2 separate regions of the Homo sapiens genome follow, and region 1 is linked to region 2. Evidence: promoter capture Hi-C in human tissues and cell types (Jung and others, 2019). All regions are on one chromosome and are shown on one strand. Each heading gives the region's core, a stretch centred on a gene start or on the middle of the fragment in contact. The rest is flanking DNA. Distances are from core to core; before and after follow the strand shown.

What was found. Contacts are between HindIII fragments. The study calls those that stand out against the background at their distance.
Region 1: a fragment that was not itself captured here is called in contact with the fragment with the promoter of SHC3 in region 2 in 1 of the 25 tissues and cell types used here (aorta).

The regions. Positions count from the first base shown.
Region 1 is chr9:89,326,643-89,330,254 of GRCh38, reverse strand. It overlaps SECISBP2 (SECIS binding protein 2), which reads right to left. Exons shown (of 17, transcript NM_024077.5): 5 at 1,369-1,595. Among named protein-coding and RNA genes, the nearest start is that of SECISBP2, 9.9 kb to the right of the region's middle. The HindIII fragment of the contact is 3,215 bases long and covers 583-3,612 here.
Region 2 is chr9:89,176,159-89,180,133 of GRCh38, reverse strand. It overlaps SHC3 (SHC adaptor protein 3), which reads left to right and starts at 1,316. Exons shown (of 12, transcript NM_016848.6): 1 at 1,316-2,147. The coding sequence starts at 1,674. The HindIII fragment of the contact is 9,677 bases long and covers 1-3,975 here.

The sequences.
Region 1 (3,612 bases), core at 941-3,440, 150 kb before region 2:
GTGAATTAACCTGCTGTAATAAGTTTTCCTGAATTTGCTGCATCATTAACAAGACAAAGATGTAATAAAAGCCTGGAAAATTCAAAAGTTACACTATGCAGTTTTAAATATTACTACAGTTAAGTCCTCAGTACCATGGACAGGTTCTTGGAAACTGTGACTTTAAACAAAACAACATAAAACAAAACCAATTCCTTTTTTCATCAACATCATAATGAAATGATGGTGAAGAAAATGTTACTGGAGGACCTACTATACAGCCTTTCATTTAAAGTTGCAGTTTCCAAGAACCTATTGACAACATTATGTGAGGACTTAATGTATTTCAATTTTTATAAAAGTCTTTTTTTTCTATATTGGAAAAAGTGCTATCAGCATGTTAGAAGTAGCGTGTTGAAAATGGGCTGTCAAAGCGGCTTGACTCTGTTACAACCTTTTCCTTCTGAGGCACCACAATACCTTTCAGCTACCATATAAAAAGGAGTATACTAGATTGGGCACGGTGGCTCAAGCCTGTAATCCCAGCACTTTGGGAGGCCAAGGCAGGTGGATCACCTGAAGTCAGGAGTTGGAGACCAGCCAGACCAATATGGTGAAACCCCATCTCTACTAAAAATACAAAAAAATTAGCCAGATATGGTGGCATGTACCTGTAGTCCCAGCTACTCCGGAGGCTGAGGCAGGAGAACTGCTTGAACCCGGAAGGCGGGGATTGTAGTGAGCCAAGAAGCCAAGATCGTGCCACTGCACTTCAGCCTGGGCAACACAGTGAGACTCCCTCCCCACAAAAAAAAAGGTATACTAGGTGATTCTTTTAAAACAATAGCTACAGCCGGGCACAGTGGCGTGGGTGGCTCACGCCTGTAATCCTAGCACTTTGGGAGGCCCAGGCAGGCGGATTGCCTTAGCTCAGGAATTCAAGACCAGCCTGGGCAACATGGTGAAATCCCGTCTCTACTAAAATACAAAAAAAAAATTAGCCAGCGTGGCAGTGTGCGCCCGTAGTCCCAGCTACTCGAGAGGCTGAGGCAGGAGAATTGCTTGAACCCGGGAGGCGGAGGTTGCAGTGAGCTGAGATCGTGCCACTGCACTGCAGCCTGGTGACAGAGCGAGACTCCGTTTCAAAAACAAAACAAAACAAAACAAAACGCACAAATAAAACAATAGCTGCACTAGATGTTACAGCCTCATTATAAACTGTTCAAACAAAGAAGGTCATATAAGTGCACAATGAAAGGCTTCCCCCAATACATCCTCCCCAGCTCCATGGACATCAAAGCCCACAGCAAGATTTAATGTGTAATGTTTGAAATGAGACAATTTAAAGTGTACAAAGGAAAAAGAAAAAGAGAGAAACCCTCACCTCACCTTTGATAACACTGCAGCTGGTTTTACTACTTCTCTTAGAAGAGAAATGTCGGTAGAGACAGAGTGGACAGGTCCCCACTTGGGTTGCTTCTGTATCTCTGACATATTGTTCTCTGCACCTTGCAGTTCAGGAAAGTCCAGTGTGGTAAATTCAAACTCAGGTTTGGAGGTAGATACATTTTTTGCAATGATTCTGGATTTCCTGTCTGTTCGCTTATGGTAACCATCTGTAATTACAAAATTAAAAGTAAGAGTAAAAATTTAGTTACTGTTTGATGACCAGTATGCAAGCAAAAATTGCAGAGTACAAAGACTATTGCTATTGATGCAACAGGTTGTTGTCAAAACACCGTAACTCTTACCGGTGTTGTTCACCTTCCTTTGTAAAAGTATAAAGTTTAAATGACCATAAGTATCAATCACTCTGGTTGGACCATCATGCAGAAAAACCAAAATGCACTGTACATTTAGGAGTATGTATAGTCACGCGCCACATATGATGGTCTGATCAGCAATGGATTACGTATACAACAGCCCCATAAGATTGTAATGAAGCTGAAAAATTCCTATTGTCTACTGGTAATGTCATGGTGCGATTACTCACGTTTGTGGTGATGCCAGTGTAAACAAACCTACTGAGCTAACAGGCATATAAAAGTATAGTACATGCGATGATGTACTGTACATAATACTCGGTAATGACAATAAACAACTATGTCACTTGTTTATGTATTATACTTTTTATCTTTGGAGTATATACTCCCACTACTTACAAAAGAAAAATTTGGCCAGGGCAAGGTGGCTCACGCCTTAATCCCAGCACTTCGGGAGGCTGAGGCAGGCAGATGCAGCCACGAGTTCCAGACCAGCCTGGCCAACATGGTAAAACCCCAACTCTATTGAAAATACAAAAATTAGCTGGGTGTGGGGGCGCATGCCCCCTAGCTACTTGGGAGGCTGAGGCACAAGAATTGCTTGAACTTGGGAGGCAGAGGTTGCAGTGAGCCAAAATAGTGCCACTGCACTCCAGCCTGTGTAACACAGTGAGACTCTGTCTCAAAAAAAAAAAAAAAACACAAAACGACAAAAGAAAAACTTAAGTATAAAGCAGCTTCAGGCAGGTCCCTCAGGAGGGATTCCAGAATAAGGCATTGTTATCACAGGAGATGACAGCTCCACGCATGTTACTGTCCCTGAAGACCTTCCAGTGGGACAATATGTGGAGGTGGAAGACAGTGATACAGATGATTCTGACCCTGTACAGGCCTAGGCTAATGTGTGTGGTTGTGTCTTCGTTTTTAATTAAAAAGTGTAGAAAGTTAAAAAAAAATTAATAGAAAAAAGCTTATAGAGTAAGGATGTAAAGAAAGAAAATATTTTTGTCCAAGCCAAGTATTTTTGGTTTTTCTGCATGTTTGTGTTTTATTACAAAAGGTAAGTGTTATTACAAGAGTCAGAAAGTTAGAAAAATTAAAAATGTATAAAGTAAAAAAGTTACAGTAAGCTAAGGTTAATTATTGAAAAAAATACTTTTATAAATTTCATGTAGCCTAAGTGTACAATGTTTAGAACGTCTCCAACAGTGTACAGTAACACCCTAGGCCTTCACATTCACCCACCACTCAGTCATCGAATCACCCAGAGCAACTTCCAGTTCTGCCAGCTCCATTCATGGTAAGTGCCCTATACGGGTAAAACATTTTATATCTTTTTTTTTTTTTTGGAGACGGAGTCTCGCTCTGTCTCCCAGGCTGGAGTGCAGGGACGCTTGATCTCGGCTCACTGCAAGCTCCGCCTCCCGGGTTCATGCCATTCTCCTGCCTCAGCCTCCCGAGTAGCTGGAACTACAGGTGCCCGCCACCACGCCAGGCTAATATTTTGTATTTTCAGTTGAGACGGGGTTTCACCGTGTTAGCCAGGATGATCTTGATCTCCTGACCTCGTGATCCGCCCGTCTCGGACTCCCAAAGTGCTGGGATTACAGGCGTGAGCCACCGCTGTACCTTTTCTATATTTTGATACACAAATACTTACCACTATGTTACAACTGCCTACAATATTCAGTACAATAATATGGTCTAAAGGTTTATAACCTAGGAACAACAGGCTATATCATATAGCCTAGCTAGGTGGTTGGCTATACCATCTAGGTCTGTGTAAGTACACTCTAAATGTTCCCACAATGACGAAATCACCTAAGGGCACATTTCTCAGAATGTGTCCCCATCAGTAAGTGAGGCATGA
Region 2 (3,975 bases), core at 67-2,566:
GTGGGGACGCGTTTCCTGTACCGGGGACGCCGCGGCTCCTCTGCGCTCTTGCGTCCTAGGGGTTGGCCTCACCCGCTCGCCCGCCATGAGTGGCGCTCATTAAACTCTGCTCCATAGAGCAGGGTTCAAGACTCAGGACCTCACGTGCCCCACATGTTCGGTCATGGGAGTGAGAGGACTCAGGGTGACCTGAGAGTGTGCTAGAGCTGAATTTATTCGCTTGCTCAGAAGTTGCGGGAAAACTTTGATAGTGAGTGTTTCACTGTGGAGCAGGTGATCCTAATGCATGAGGAAGCCTGGCAGAGCCCACTGAGGTCAAGAGTCAGAGGGCTTCAGTCTCGGGCAGACCTCTGGGGACAGCGAAAGCCTTGCTCTCCTAACTGAGAGGAAGAAGGCCTGTGCATTTTACTTGCAAGCCCGAGCCTGACTCCTGAAAAGAAGGCATATTTTCCTCCTTGTGGATTTGATGTGCAATAAGAACAGCTGCATTTTTTCCTTCCTGACTGCAGGGTTGCAAGCAGCAACTGAAGGAACATTGAAATGTATTTGTAGCATTTCTTAGGCGTTTTTCCAGAGCTTAAACACATTCAGTAGGATTAAAGCTTCAAATGCAGCCCCTTTTTTGGAATGGATTTCTGGAGCCTGTTGCCACTCGTGAAAGAAGCACTCTTCTTTTTTGGAAGTGGATATTCAACTTAACCCTGGCTGAGAAAGACTGCTGTAAATGAGCAGGGAAGACCCCTTGATTGGCACTGTGCAGAAGTTCATATGCAGATTTTTTTTTTTTTTTTTTTTTGAGGAACTGCATTGCCACAAAGACACTTGTCATCGCTGCTCTGTTAATTTGAAAAGAAAAAGCAAAACCCAGGAAATTGGTATTTTACAGTCACCTGGGGGTGAATATCCTTTTTGTTTTTTTCTATTTAAAAATTCCTGCTGCCTTCCAAGTCAAGATTCATCAGGATTCGCTGAAGATCTGATTCTTAAAAAGCCTTCGTCACATTTTAACGCATCGCTGTTAGACACTTTTACAGGCTCACACAGATGGGCTGAGCAGGGACGAGCAAAACCTAACAGAATAATGGGTTTCAGAAAGTTCATTTGACGATTTGAAGGAACTGGATTGGATTTACCTTTGGCACAAATGCAGATTGCGGGGGATGGGAAGGTGAAAAATCAAAGGTTGGAAGGAAATATCTGGGAAGGTAGAAAAAGGAAATTTGAGAATTGATTGGCTATAGTGTGCTGTCAGCGGGTGGATGTCGTTTTTTTCTTCTTTTTTTCCTTTTTTTTCTTCTGCTACAGGAAGTGATTTGCAGTGCTCACCGAGCCTTTGTTGAGAAGGGTCTCCTCTCAGAGTGAGTCATGCTTTTGCTGTGAGCAGCCCCAAGCAGCTGGGCGCTCCATCAGAGGCAACTATGACTTTTGCAAAGCAAACGTGCAACCCCAAGCAGCGGTCTCCCGGGCCGGGGCTGCGCGGCCGCCGCTGTGCTGGCTTTTAACGGTGGGAGGGCACCATCCTCTTGCTCTGCTCTCGTTCTCCAGAAGGCTGTCCCGGGGCCCCCACTCTCCGTCCCGCTCCGGGGACAGTGGCTCGCCTGCTATGCGCGGCAGCCCGCGCCGGGGCCGGCACCAGCAGCGCCCGGGCGGATGCAGCGAGCCCACGGAGGGGCATGCTTCCACGCACCAAGTATAACCGCTTCAGGAATGACTCGGTGACATCGGTCGATGACCTTCTCCACAGCCTGTCGGTGAGCGGCGGCGGAGGCAAGGTTTCGGCGGCGCGCGCGACCCCGGCGGCGGCTCCCTACTTGGTGTCCGGCGAGGCGCTGCGCAAGGCGCCCGACGATGGGCCCGGCAGCCTGGGCCACCTGCTCCACAAGGTGTCCCACCTGAAACTCTCCAGCTCGGGCCTCCGCGGCCTGTCGTCGGCCGCCCGGGAGCGGGCGGGCGCGCGGCTCTCGGGCAGCTGCAGCGCGCCCAGCCTGGCCGCCCCGGACGGCAGTGCGCCCTCGGCGCCCCGCGCCCCGGCCATGAGCGCCGCCAGGAAGGGCCGGCCCGGCGACGAGCCGCTGCCCAGGCCCCCTCGGGGGGCGCCGCACGCCAGCGACCAGGTGCTGGGGCCCGGAGTCACCTACGTGGTCAAGGTGGGTGCGGGCGCGGGCCGCCCTGGGGGCTGGGGGTTCTGGGGCCAGTTCGGGGCAGACTCCTTCATTCCCTGAAGCCCGGGGTGCGGGGCGCTCCCGCGACTGTCACGTTAGAGGCAAGCAAATGCGCACTCCTTAGCAATCAGCTCGCTTGACAGCGGTGAGGAGGGAACTACAAATGCGCTTTTCCCGCATCCATTGGGAAAAGGTTTACCACTCGGGTGGCCCGCTCCGTCCCGGTTTTCCCTAGGCTCCACTTTTTTGGCACGCCTTTGCCACCTGGCTTACCAGATGTCTGACCAGTGTCATGGGCGCCCAACCCTGGGCAGCGGGGGTCCGGCCTGCCTAGTATCTAGGAAACGCGCTGGGGAGAGCTGGGCAGCCCCCGGGAGGAGAGATGCACGGAGTGGCGGCCCTACTCCTGCTGTGTCTTCCCCGGCGGGAGGGTGGGTATCTTGTTGCCCCCCGCAGCAAGAATTCCCAGCTCCTTGCAGAGCAGGCCAAATGCTGTGCTGCTTTCTCTTCGACGGGCTTTACTTTCTCACCCAGTCCAGGTTTTCTTGGGGTTTGTCTTTCATTCCCTAAGGAAAGGTTCTGGTTTACAGCAGCGGAATGAGAATTCTGGGACTATTTTTCTGGTGACTGTAGTCTTCCATTTAAATGTGCTAAAAGGGAACTAGGGCGCTGCGCTTGGAGCCACAGGCTGGAAAGGAGTTTTTTCCTCCAACACAAAGATGATAAAATCACGATGTAGTCAATAAAATTCCACCCTTATGCAAGCATGTTATGATATTTAAGGAAAAATGCTCAGCACAGTTCAAGTAATCTGCCACGCGGTTATTTCCTTCTGCCGGTTGGGCAGCTCAGAGCTTTAACAGCCTCCACAGCCGAGCAGACAGGGGTTAAGGATGGAAGTTGCAGTATTTCAATCCTGCCACTCCAAGGCATGGCTTTGTATTGAGAAAGAAATGAGACACAAACTCTATCCCCACCGTGTCCTCAATAACACTGAGAAACCCCCAGGATGTCTGTTCCGTAAATATTGGCTGCAGATTCCAGTGTAAAAATTAAATAGAACACATCCTCAGGTAAAATGCAGTGTCTGGTAATTTCGGAACCAAAATATTAACAGAAATACTTAACTTTGTGGATTGCCTTTAACTATATAAAAAGTACTTACAGATGAATGTGGCCATTGTTGTTAAAAGAGGGCTTCTTCACCTTTTCAGTCTGCTTTTTAATTTAACCTTCAAACTATGGATTATTATATTTTACCAAAGGGGTATAGATGAGCATAATATATGCATATTTGGTTGAGTTTATTTTAAGAGGTACTGAATATTCTTCTTGTTTTGCTTATTTAAATTATATAACCAGGGGCCAAAACAAAAAGAAAAAAACAAACCAAACCAAAAATCCCTGACAGCTTTGAGGTTGTGTTTACTTCTGGGGTGTTAGCATAATTGCTGTTTTAAAAAGCCTACATTTCAAATAGACAAATAGACCTTGGCAAAGCTTTTTCTACCTGTCATATTAAACAGAGTAGTTTTCAAATTGAGGGAGAATTCTCAAACTTATGGCTTTAAATTTTTGTTTTAATCACTTTGCTTAGAACTTTGCTTTTGCTTTTTAAAGAAGGAAGGCCAGCATCAAGTTTGAAAGGTCAAATGTGGCAAAATAATGATGAATGTACGAAAATAAGACGGCTCTGCGTCGACAATCTGTTGCTGTAAGGTTTGTGACTTACTGGCAGCATCAGCAGTAGTATTCATAGTCAAAGGGCTGGATCTGCACAGAGCTTGTCTGTGTCTTGGGGTTACTTTGTGTT